2 separate regions of the Homo sapiens genome follow, and region 2 is linked to region 1. The links are contacts of gene promoters, found by promoter capture Hi-C in blood cells and fetal thymus (Javierre and others, 2016). All regions are on one chromosome and are shown on one strand. Each heading gives the region's core, a stretch centred on a gene start or on the middle of the fragment in contact. The rest is flanking DNA. Distances are from core to core; before and after follow the strand shown.

Region 1 (6,654 bases), core at 552-3,051:
AAATATGATATATTTATGTATGTCTCCCCCTTCCCCTAATAATGTAAATTCATTAGTACAGAAATTTTCATCTCTTCTTCATTTACTACTATATCCCCAAGGCCGTAGCAGGTGCTCAATACGATTTTTTGAATGAATGAGAAGTATTCCCATCACAAATTACTCGGAAAAAAAACCAGAAACCATATGAGAAAAGACTGATTCATCTGACTGCATAAAACCAAACCACAACATCCCCATTCCTTTTTACATTGAAAAATAATGCCATAGGCAAAGACAAATGACAATTGGGAGTAAAGTATTCGCAGATAAGAGATCCTAGAATGTGAAAAAGACCAAAAAGGAGAAAAATGGGCAAATAATATGGACAGCTCACCATACTTCCATACCATCCTTCACCCATCATTTTGGCAAAATTCCAAGTGTCTTTTATGTATTGCAGTCAAGTTTTGGGGAATGGAGCTTGTGTCCAACACACTTTGAAACTGATAGCTGCTGTTCGGATTTTTAAATGTTGCTATTATCTTTTTTTTGTGTGATGAATTCTTATGTATTTTATAACATATCAATTAGTACCAGTTATTTTTCTTAGTAAATTATATCATCTGCAAGTAATTAGTGTATCTGTCTCTTTCCAATATTTATAGGGCTTATTTTAAAATTTTAGTCATTTTGCATGAGAAGCTTGGTGATAAAATCATGGATCCTGGACATAGCTCTTCCACTTACACTGTGCAATCTCGGCAGGTTATTTAGCCTCTCCGTGCCTCAGTTTTCCCATCTGTAAAACGAGGACGGCATCATCTTCTCTTTAAGTTTGTTTTGAGGATTAAGTGATTTATTTCATGTAAAGCACAAGGTAAAGCTCTGGATGATCAGTTAAGGTAAAATTTGAGATAGAGTGAACAGCTGACCAATATCGAATGGTAAAATCAATCACAACTGGAAATATATCTCAGTTGAGGGAAATAAAAGACGTAGGTTTAAGAACAAAGATGGTGGTTTTTAGCATTTCAAATCACTAGACACTGCTCCAAAAATATAATCTACAAATTAGGGCCATCTGACCAAGAGTCTCACTTGCTTTTCCAACCTAATGGAAATATTAAGTCCAAATGACGTCTGTTGCTTTATTGTGGTCTTTAGGGTCTTTCCATGCAAATCAGTGGACTAATGGCAGAGTATTGCCTATTCTTTACCTTTCAATAAACTTGTGGTTTCATCCTTTCTACAGAAAAGAACCTAGGAGGTGTCAGTGAAAAAGGTCACATCAGTGTCCTCTGGGAGTTTACGGTCTCGTGGAAACAGGCAACAACGGTAAAGACAGACGCTACGGGACCACAGAGGCGGGCTCCTCACCCGCTGCTGTGCAGAGAAAGGGGCGCATCCCGGAGCCTTCTCGCCTCCACCCCGCTCCCCCGCCCAGGCTCTCGACAGCCCCGGCCCTGACGGCCTAAGCCTGAGCCCCGCGTTCAGCTTCTGCTCCCACCCGGACCCCGCACGACCTCTATAGGTCAGACGGTGGCGCCCGGCCGGCCCACGTGCTCCCCACGGGCCCTCGCGACGCGGCCCGGACGTGGCCCCGGACTGCCTCCAATCCAGAAGAAACTAAGAGGCGGAGTCCCGCTGAGCCCCTGCATTCAAAAGATGAAAAGATATGGGATCACCTTTCGTCAGAGTCCGTGGCCGTTTTGCCGAGGGCCGGGTTGGGGGGTTTTGAGAAAAGATTCTCAAAATCCATGACCCAGACAGGTCCTCCCTTTCGCGAGCCGGGAAGCTACAGAGTAACAACCCGAGAGAGTGACAACCCGGACGCGACGAGACGGACCCAGAGCCGCGCCAGGGCCACAGGCTCCGCCCCGCGCAGCCTCACCTGCCCCGCGCATGCGCTGCACCGCCCTCCGCGACTCTGGGCAGGCCGGGTCTCTCCCTGCCTCCTTCGCCTCGGCTCTGCGCAGGCGCCGCCGTGGTTGCCCTTCTGTAAGCTTTTTCGTCCTTTACCTCAGATAGTAGAATTTTGTTTATTTTATTTATTTATTTGTTTGTTTGTTTGTTTATTTAAAGACAGAGTCAAGCTCTGTCGTCCAGGCTGGACTGCAGTGGCGTGATCTCGGCTCACTGCAACCTCCGCCTCCCGGGTTCAAGCAAGTCTCCTGCTTCAGCCTCCTGAGTAGCTGGGACTACAGGTGTCTGCCACCACGCCCAGCTAATTTTTGTATTTTTAGTAGAGACGGGATTTCACCATGTTGGCCAGGATGGTCTCGATCTCTTGATCTCGTGATCCGCCCGCCCCAGCCTTCCAAAGTGCTGGGATTACAGGCGTGAGCCACCGCGCCCGGCCCCAGCCCAGAATTTTTAAAATTAGTTGTTAGGATTCTGCTTTCACCTTGGTGAAAACTCTTCCATCAAAATCACAGTATTTCTAAGGGATGGTAGTAACAGCTAACATTTATCTGAGCACTCCACTACTATTCCTTAGAAATAGCGTTTCACATGTTAGCTAACTTAATCCTCACAACAGCCCTGTAAAAGATGTTCTATTACCATTCACAGTTTTGAAATGAATAAACAGATGTGTAGTCAGGTAATGTAACTTGTAGGGTCTCTACAATTGAATGGGAATTAAAATGAATACACAAGTAACCTCAAGACAGAAAAGTCCGTTAAAAAGTACCAAATACTAAGAGAATTCAGAAGAGGGAAAAAATTGCATCCAGTTGGGAAGGCTTCTTGAGAAGGGAGTATTTGAGCTGGGTCTTGAGATATTTCCATAGGAAAAGAGGAAGTGGGCATTCCAAGTAGAGAGAATTGTATGAAGGCAGGAAAATAGAGCATGCTGTTGCAGAACAGGAAATTGCTCAGTTTTGCTCAATGTAATGCCATTTAAGGGACCTGTAGAAAGGAAGGCTCAAACCCTAGGTTGGGCCAGTGATAGAGAACCTGACTTGCTTCTGTAAGTGAAGGGAGTGTTTGATTCTTGGCATGAATCAGGATCCCTTTACCGATTAGTGAAGGGAACTATTTGAAGCCAGACATCTTCCCCAGGGAAATTCTACTTTCCCATGTTGTTTATATTGTAGGCCATCACCTATGGAACATGAATCATTACTAAAAATTCAGAGAAAAAATTGAATTAAGGAGATAAAAACTAGAATTACCCCCTCTTTAGCAGGAAGCATTATTATAGAACCCAAATTGTTACCATACACACTTTTTTATATAAAATATCCAACATACAGCAAAAGATAACCAGACACAAATGAAAATTAGATTGGTAGGTAAAAAGCAGCTAAAACATCTGACCTGCAAAGGCATCAGACACTAGCATTTTCAGACAAAGACTATATAAAAGGCTACATATGTTTGTGTTAGATTGATGCCAAAAAAGGCCCCAATTTCTCCAACCTTTCCTGTATCCATGTCCTTTGCAATGTGACTTTGCAGCTCCTCCCATAAAGAGGTAGGATCTATTTCACCTCCTCTTTAATCTGAGTTGATTTTGCCTGATAGAATGACTTGTCTTAGCTAGTAGAATGCAGAAGTGGCCTGCCAATACCAAGCCAAGGCCCCAAGAGGCTTTGTATGTGTCTGCTGTCTCTTATATGCCTGCCTTCTTCAGGACAATAAACTCAGGCTACCCTGCTGACGATAAGGGAGAGGCATGTAGAAGATAAGGCTAATGGAGGACAGCGAAAACACCCAGTCAACAGCTAGCAAAACCCTAAAAGCAAAGCCTCCTAGGCAACATACAGCTGAGCACACACATGATGGAGTCCTGCAGAGAACCAAAGACTCTCAGATGATCCCAGTCCAAATTACTAACCCACATAAATAAATGGTCCTTGTTTTAAGCCACTAAGTTTTTAAGTAGTTTACTACATAGTAATATCTAACTAATAAAAAAGAAACTATAAAAAGTGTCATAGAGAAATTGGGGAGAAGTAACCAAGTAGAACTTCTAGAAATAAAAAATATAATACTGAAATTTTTAAAAATCAGTGGATGGGGCTGGGCGTGGTGGCTCACACCTGTAATCCCAGCACTTTGGGAGGCCAAGGCCGGTGGATCACAAGGTCAAGAGATAGAGACCATCCTGCCAAAATGGTGAAACCCTGTCTCTAATAAAAATACAAAAATTAGCTGGGCGGGTTGGCGCACGCCTGTAGTCCCAGCTACTCAGGAGTCTGAGGCAGGAGAATCGCTTGAACCCGGGAGGCGGAGGTTGCAGTGAGCTGAAATTGCGCCACTGCACTCCAGCCTGGGAGACAGAGTGAGACTCCATCTCAAAAAAAAAAAAAAAAAATCAGTGGATGGTGTGGTCATATTAAAATGTGTTCAAAAATTCCTTAACACTTCTCCCTGCAAAAGTTGGAGATTTAGTCCCCTCTTCTTTAATGTGGATAGGATTTACTTATTTATTTCTAACAAATACAATGTGGCAAAAGTGATGATGCATGATTTCTGAGGTCATAAGAAGACATTGTAGTTTCTGCCTTATTCTCTTGAATCATCTGCATGAAGGGAAGTCAGTCACCATGTCATGAATCACTCAGGCAGCCTGTGGAGAGCCAGCCATGTGGGTGAGGTACCTTGGAAACAGATCTCCCAGCACTAAGCAAGCCAGAAGACATCTCGACAGCAATCCCGTGAGAAACTGTGGGACAGAACCACCCAGCTAAGCAGCTCGCAGATTCGTGACCCACAGAGGATATAAGAAGATCAATGTTGGGCCAGGTGTGGTGGCTCACGCCTGTAATCCCAGCACTTTGGGAGTCTGAGGCAGGTGGATCACCTCAAGTCAGGAGGTTGAGACCAGCCTGGCCAACATGGTGAAACCCCGTCTCTACTAAAAATACAAAATTAGCTGGGTGTGGTGGCGCATGCCTGTAGTCCCAGTTACTTGGGAGGCTGAGGCACGAGAATCGCTTGAACCCAGGAGGCGGAGTTTGCAGTAAGCCGAGATCGCGCCATTGCACTCCAGCCTGGGCAAGAAGAGCAAAACTTCATCTCAAAAAATAATAATAATAATAAAGAAGATCAATGTTTGTTTTTTTAACCACAAAGTTTTAGGCCAATTTGCTGTCCTCTATAGCAATAGAAAAGTGAAATTCCCTATTATTATAAAGCAGATGGCCTAAACATAAAATTATCATATGACCCAGCAATTCCACTCCTAGGTATATACCCAAAGGAATTGAAAACAGGGACTGAAACATATATTTGTACATTCATGTTAATTGCAGCATTATTCACAATAGCCAAAAGGTAGAAACAAACCGAGTGTCCATCCACTGATTAATGGATAAAATGTGATATACACATAGGATATTATTTATCCATAAAAAGGAATGATGCTCTGATACATGCTGTCAGAACTGAATTTTGTATACTAGCTGAACTTTGAAAACTGTATGCTAAGTTAAATAAGCCAGGCACAAAAGGACAAATATTGTATGATTCCACTTACGTGAAATATCTACAATAGGGAATTGTATAGAGACAGACAGTAGATTAGAGGTTACCAGGGACTGAGAGAGGGTGAAACGGAATTGTTGCTTAAAAGTGACAGAATTTCTGCTTGAGGTGATGGGAAAGTTTGGAAATACATAATGGTGATGGTTGCACAACAATGTGAATGTAACTAATGCCAATGAATTATATGCTTAAAAATGGCTGGTCAGACACAGTTGCTCACTCCTGTAATCCCAGCACTTTGGGAGGCCAAGGCAGGTGGATCATCTGAGGTCAGGAGTTTGAGACCAGCCTGACCAACATGGTGAAACCCCGTCTCTACTAACAATCCAAAAATTAGCCAGGCGTGGTGGCGGGCACCTGTAATCCCAGCTACTCGGGAGGCTGAGGCAGGAGAATCGCTGAAACCCGAGAGGCAGAGGTTGTAGTGAGCCGAGATGGTGCCATTGCGCTCCAGCCTGGGCAACAGAGTGAGACTCCGTCTCAAAAAAAAAAAAAAGTTGAAATGGCAAATTTTATATTTCTTTTACCAAAATAAAATAAAGCAGTTGGCATGTTAAAATGGTGAAATGGCCTGTGATAACTCAGCTCCAGTATGAGCTAGATATAATACCTTATGAGTATGTGCTATAAATCAACAATCACCAATACATGGTGCTGTTTCTCCCATAGCCAGTATACACAGGGTCTGGGAATCAAGGCTTCCAAGTGGGAGTAGGTCCTCTCTGTATTATTCCTAGTGATGCCCTAGAATAATGTTTGCTGCCTATCTCCACAACTTTGGGCTCTGCTGGTTTAGAGCAGACTTTTTCAACCGTAACATTATTGTCATTTCGGCCTGGATAATTGGGGACGGTCTTGCGCATTGTAGGAAGCTTGGCAGCATCCCTGGCCTCTGCCGCTAGGTGTCAGTAGCAGCTGTTCCCCAGTTGTGGCAACCCAAAATGTCTCCAGACATTGCCAAATGTCCTCTGCGGGGAGCAAAATCGTCCTCACTTGAGAACCACCGGTGTAGCGTTAATCCCAAAAGTAGGAATGTTTGCATCAAGGGGCGTGACAATGAGTCCATTAAACTTGAGGTTGAGACTGCCGTTTGGCCACCTTAGGATCCTCATGCCAGTGAATTAACAGGTAAAGAAGGGGCTTACTGTATTGGCAGGGGTGATTAATCCTAACTATCAA
Region 2 (6,715 bases), core at 1,977-4,476, 54 kb before region 1:
AAGATGAAACAAGGGGCTCAATCAGCATATTTCATAAAGAGATTCATTGACTCCAGGAACAGGAAGGGCTATGGACTCTTAATCCCCACCCTGGATTTGCCTGGAGAACAGCAAACAAAATCAAAGCCATTCTCTCCTCAGAATCTGCAGGATCAAAAACACTCCCTCCCTGAAACCTCCTCTTCCAGGCCTGCTGTCTCCCTCCTCTGTAACAATATTCCTGCAGCAGCTGATTCGGCTCTTACCCCTTTCTGTGGTCTGGATGTTTATGTCTCCCCCAACCACCTAAATTAATACATTGAAACCTCATCTCCAAGGTGATGGTGTTACCAAGTAGGGCTTTTGGGAGGTGATTAGTTTATAAAAGCGGAGCTCACATAAATGGGATTAGTGTCCTTATAAAAGAAACCCAGAGGCTGAGTGCGGTGGCTCATGCCTATAATCCCAGCACTTTGGGAGGCCAAGGTGGGCAGATTGCTTGAGGTCAGGAGTTCAAGACCAGCCCGGCCAACATGGTGAAACCCCCGTCTCTACTAAAAATACAAAAATTAGCCAGGTGTATTGGTAGACACCTGTAATCCCACTACTTGGGAGGCTGAGGGAGGAGAATCGCTTGAACCTGGGAGACAGAGGTTGCAGTGAGCCGAGATTGCAGCACTAACTCCAGCCTGGGTGACAGAGTGAGATTGTCTCAAAAAAAAAGAAAGAAAGAAAGAAAGAAAGAAAGAAACCCAGAGTGTGTCTGCTACCTTTCATCATGTGAGGACACAGTAAAAAGGCACCATTTATGGGTCATGAAACAGGTCCTCACCAGACACCAAACCTGCTGGAACCTTGATCCTGGACTTTCCAACCTCCAGAACTGTGAGAAATAAATTTTTGTTGTTTATTAGTCACCCAGCCTAAGGTAGTTTATTATAGCAACCTGAATGCACTAAGATACACCCTCAGTAAAGCCAGGGAAGCCTCCCTCCACTATAGTCTACCAGTGAGTCAGGCTAACTAATTGGAATCTCTGCTTTTATTAACTTCAGGTGACATTACAGAGCAAGTGAAGGACTATGTGGGTTCCATCTGCATGCTAATTAAAGCCAGGCTCTGCCCTAGGAACCAGGATGCATGACCCACATTTCCTTTTCCTCTTGGACAAACAGAAGGGAAAAAATTATAATCAAGATCAAAAGTGAGTCAAAAGACAAATGGACAGGAATTCCATAGAAATGCCTCCCAGGTCAAGGCGGTCCCCCTGAGAAATTGCCCAGGGTGTCTTTTCTCCTTTAGCATCCCTGCATGCAACTCTCCCTCTTTGCATGGTGACAGACAGTTGTACGGTGGGCAGAGTCATTTCCTGGTGTCCATTTCTCTCATTTCTCTCATCGTCACTTTTCCAGTGACGGAGTGAAAAATTGCTCTATTGGCAGCAAGGCTGTCAGGGAGAACTGAGAGTTGAAACAAGCCACAACTTTTCAACATTGCTGCTCTAGAGCTAACCCATAAATGGCACCCATTCAGAACATGAATGTCACAAATCATCTAAGCATAAACTCTCCTAACACCCACTCACTCACACAGCCAGACAAGAGTACTGACTCTTCCAGAAACTCTCTAGTTTACAAAATCTCACCCATCCCTTCCAGGATCATCCTATGACTTTCTCTGGTCTCAAATGCCCTGTCTGTCCCCAATTCCCTCCTGTTAAGATGTTCCTCAGTTCCTCTCTGCTATGGTTTGAATGTGCCCCCAAATGTTCATGTGTTGGAAAATTAATCCCTCTGCCCTCATGAATGAATTAGTGTTAGCTCTGCCCTCATGAATGGATTAATGGGTTAATGAGGCCTGTGTGGTCATAAATGGATTAATGTCACTATCACAGGAGTGGGTTCGTTATTGAGGGAAGGGCTTTATTATAGAAGCGAGCTCTCTCTGGCTCTCCTGCTGTTGCCCTCTCACCATGTAATGCCCTTCACCGTGGTATGATGCAGCAAGAAGGCCTCACAAGATGCCAGTTCCATGCTCTTGAACTTCCCAGCCTCCAGAACCATGAGCTAAACATTTTCTTTATAAGTTACCCAGTCTGTGGTATTCTGTTATAGCAACAGAAAACAGACAAAGACACCCCCCATATGCAACCTCTTTTGCTGCAGCAAATAGTAAACCTGACTTTGTTGACTATATGTGGGTTCCTGGTGGTCTTTGACTGAGAGACATCAACTCCCAACTCAAGCAACCAGTGCTCTCAACTGCAATCCCTGATCCACTGGAGTGTGGTGATCAGCTGTGAAGTGTGTATTAGGTAATTGGTGGCTAGTACTAATTAAGATTCTCAAGCTTGGAAATAACAAAGGAGTATGGCTTGCCCAGGAGGAACTGTGCAGAGCCATGGGGGACACCTCAGATGTTCGTGGGAATGTCACATAAGGGGTGGCATGTATGCAGCTGGCTTATGCATAGGGAATCACTAGCTACATACTTGGCCATTCTCCTTCATTTCTGCCTTTGTCTGGGGAATTCTCGAATTACCTGAGCAGAAGGACACATCACCTCCATCTATGTTGTTTCATGGATAAGGCGTAAATGGTTTTTTTTGTTTGTTTTTTGTTTTATTTTGTTTTTAGACATAGTCTCGCTCTGTCCCCCAGTCTGGAGTGCAGTCGCACAATCTCGGCTCACTGCCACCTCTGCCTCCCAGATTCAAGCTATTCTCCTGCCTCAGCCTCACAAGTGGCTGGGATTACAGGTGCACCACCACCCGGCTAATTTTTGCATTTTTAGTAGAGGTGGGGTTTCGTCATGTTGGCCAGGCTGGTCTCGAACTCCTGAGCTCAGGTGATCCACCTGCTTCAGCCTCCCAAAGTACTGGGATTACAGGCGTTACAGGTGTGAGCCACCACACCCAGCCTAAATGTTTTTTAAAATCCTATTTATTCTCTTTCACTTAAAGGTCACCATTTTTCATATTGTTGGATGGAAAAAAGCAGCACCCATTTAAATGTTTAAATGTCAATGATGAATATTGAGCAAGTGCCTTTTATGTGCTTGATCCTTGCAGAGAATACAGCTTTGGATGGGGCAGGTACACTAAATGCCCTTCCACAGCTTCCAGAATGTCAGGGAGGACAATTTGAGACAAGGAGTGTGAGGGTTGCTGAGATCAAAGGAGGGTGGAAAGCGAGATGTACCCTTGCCTGGTTCACTAAGGCTGCCTCTGACAACAGAGGAAATGTGAGTGAGGCCTCTGAGGCAGGAGGCAGGGCCCAGTGACTGCTGTCCTGAATCTCTTTACAAATCCTGTGATTTGACCTGGAGAGTTCTGAACAACAGACACTTGCTCATTCATGGGTGGGCCCGGAAGGCCTGTTTCACGGACCATCGTGCAGCTCCCACACCACAGCCTTGTCACAGGTCCTTGCCAAGATTTAACAGAACAAAGGCCGTGGGCCCCAGCAGTGTCTTCCCAGGTGAAGATCTCTCAGGTCTCGCATTTGTTCCAGGGTACCCTGTTCCCTGCCTTGCCGTTCCAGCTCCTTGGCAGAAGGCCTGCACATCTTATTTGAAAAGTCAAGGGCATTTTTCCCTTCTTTTTTTTTCCTCCCCTGGTTCAGATGTAGGTGTAGGACACATCCCAAAGAACACAGCCCTCCAGAACTGCAGGCAGTCCAGAGTGGCAGGAGCCAGGGGAGGTTGGGCAGGTTTCTGTTTCCTGAGGGGCCACTCACATCATCTCCCCAACTTAGGGAGAACATAGAATCCTTCACAGCTACACAAGGACAGGCATTCAGTCTCTGAGATAATAAGGAATTCACAGCAACCAGGCTTTCCTCCTTCATGGACTGAAATGACTGTTTTATGTGCATTTGGCTGAAATAAGGAGCATTTCTGTTGATTCCAGGTTTACCTAACTGAGTTCAGCTACATGAGGAAGTTTAAATTGGCTTACAGTCTGTGGGCATATGGAAGGCTGAAAAGAGCTGGTGTGTCAGCAGATATGAGGCTGAATCACAAATTCATTCAGGAAGTCCAAGATTAAAGTCTAGTTTATATTATTATGTAACAAATATACCTGCCAAGCAACACATCCAGGCAAATAAATTTGGAGTATTTTTATGTAGGATACAGCTGGGATACAAAGCTTGTATATATTTAAGACTTATGGGAATGGTAAATAAGACTACTTCTGTGGAATCTCTTAAAAAGGTAGTTTAAAAATTTGGAGCATGGAGTAAAGGTCCCAAATTCTTATGAACTAGGAGCTTCCTGCTAACAGTCATGTGCACTTTATCTGTTAATTGTTTACTGTCTCATTCCTCTGAGTGCAATTGCGTTCCCCAGGAAGATGAGTCTCTGGACATGCCAGGCAAGGAAAGGTGATTTTGAAATAAAAGTACTAGAAGACGACATGTTCAATTTTCATACCAGTCATAAATACGTATATAGTTCTATTTATATATACACTTCTATTTATATATTACATATATAGATATGAAATATATTTAGAAATATATATATTTTTAAGTGCAGGGTTTTTTTAAAAGGTATTGTGATGTCAAACCACACTTAAAAGTGAGTTAAGGTTTCTACCTCTGGAACAGCAGAGTAAAAATCTTCAAAAATCCACTCCTCTATGAAAGACATAAAAACACTGCCAAAACAGTCAAAAATCAACTTTTTCAGAATCTGGAAATTAACTGAAGGCTAGCAACAATTTGAAGAGAATTTATTCAAGCAAAACAGCTGAATCTTGGTGAAATGCCTGTGGCATTTTAACTTCTCTAATGTCATTCTCCTCTCCCCAGCTCCACAGTATGAGCCTTGAAGACTGAAAGCCCTGCAACCTTAACAGCTATGAAAACTAGTACCTACTAGTCACTGGAGTGAGTAGAACAAGTTGGGAGCTTCTCAAAAACTCCACCCCCCACTAAAATTCACTATTTGATCTCACAGCTTACTGAAAAGCTACCTTCTCAGGGCTTAGACTCAAGAGCTCACTCTGTGTGAACAGCCTTACCATTTGTCAAAAACAATCAGTAGCAATTGTTTAATATTGCAACTGGAGGTGTTGTTACCTCCAGAGCCAACAAGAGGCTGAGCAAAAAACAAAAACAAACAAACAAAAAAACAAAAAAACTGGGAAATGAAATATCTACAGGGGGCTTTGAAAAGCTCTGACACATCCCTGGGAATCTAGAAAACCATGCATGTGCAGGGATGAGAACATGCCCAAGAAAGACCTGAAAGGGTCCTAAGTTCTTATCTCAGGCCAGCTTGAGGTACTTCTCATGCAGGAAGTAAAGCCTAAGGCAGAGTTGTAAATTCTCAGCCAGAATATTGAAGGTATGTCCCAACTCACACACAGAGTTCCTCTATGAAGACTGGAAGACTCATATGTTCAAGGTATTTGAGAAAATCTCTGCCCAATCAAGGGCTGTCTATTAAGCTAACTAAGCGCTGACTTCAATAGCCATACAGAATAAAAAAATACAAACTTTACACACTTAGTCCAGGAAAAACACTAAACAAACAGCAATGACAATAAGCAGAAACAAGCAAACCCTGGATGGAGTAGTATGATTTACAAAGTTGACAAATTATATTGTTTAAAATGTCCAATTTTCAATAAAATATTATGAACTTACCAAAAAAAGGGGGCCCAAAGAAGTATGCTCCCATGCATAAACAGTCAATACACACTATCCCTAAGGAAGCTCAGAACTTATGTATTAGTCCGTTTTCATGCTGCTGATAAGGACATACCTGAGACTGGGAAGAAAAAGATGTTTAATTGGACTTACAGTTCCACATGGCTGGGGAGGCCTCAGAATCATGGCAGGAGGCAAAAGGCACTTCTTACATGGCAGTGGCAAGAGAAAATGAGGAAGATGCAAAAGCAAAAACCCCTGATAAAACCATCAGATCTCATGAGACTTATTCACTACCACGAGAACAGTATGGGGGAAACTGCCCCCATGATTCAAATTATCTCCCACCAGCTCCCTCCCACAAAATGTGGGAATTGTGGGAGTACAATTTAAGATGAGATTTGGGTGAGGACACAGCCAAACCATATCAGCTTACTAGAGAAAGACTTTAAATCAGCTATTATAAATATTTTCAAAAAAAGTAAAGAAAACCATGTCTAAAGGAGGTTGTCTCATCAAATAGAGAATATCAATAAAGAGATAGAAACTTTTTAAAAAAACAAATAGAAATATTAAGTTGAAAAGTATAAGGCTGAAATAACAAATTCACAAGAAGGCCAAGAGACAATTTGAGCAGGCAGAAGAAAGAATCGGTGAATTTAAACATAGGTCATTGATATTATCCAGCTTGAGGAACAAAAAAAAAAAAAGAAAAACTATCTGAGCCTTAGATATTTGTGAGGTCACCATCAAGCATATCAATATATGTATAATAAGCATCTCAGAAGGAGAAGATAGTAAGAAAAGAAAGAAAGGGTATTTGAATAAATAAGGCAGGAAACTCCCCAAATCTGATGAAAAACACTAATATGCACATCCGAGAAGCTAAAAGAATTCCAAGCAGGATAAAGACAAAAAGATCCACACTTAGACCCATCATGGTCAAACTGTTGAAAGTCAAAAAGAATTTTTAAACTAGTAAGAGAAAAGACTTCAAGTATAAGGGAGCTTCAATAAGAGTAACAGGTCACTTCTCATCAGAAACTATGGAAGCCAGAAGACAGTGGGAGGACATATTC

Evidence for each region. Contacts are between HindIII fragments. The CHiCAGO score rates a contact against its expected background, and 5 or more counts as called.
Region 2: a contact is called between a fragment that was not itself captured here and the fragment with the promoter of ZC3H8 in region 1, in 2 of 17 cell types (non-activated CD4 T cells and activated CD4 T cells). The highest score is 6.1, in non-activated CD4 T cells.

What each region holds. Positions count from the first base shown.
Region 1 is chr2:112,253,241-112,259,894 of GRCh38, forward strand. ZC3H8 (zinc finger CCCH-type containing 8) reads right to left here and starts at 1,802. Exons shown (of 9, transcript NM_032494.3): 1 at 1,668-1,802. The coding sequence starts at 1,741. RefSeq lists a silencer at 1,775-1,984 and a cis regulatory region at 3,535-3,786. The HindIII fragment of the contact is 1,301 bases long and covers 683-1,983 here.
Region 2 is chr2:112,197,941-112,204,655 of GRCh38, forward strand. It overlaps a transcript of FBLN7 not described here. Among named protein-coding and RNA genes, the nearest start is that of ZC3H8, 54 kb to the right of the region's middle. The HindIII fragment of the contact is 1,801 bases long and covers 2,327-4,127 here.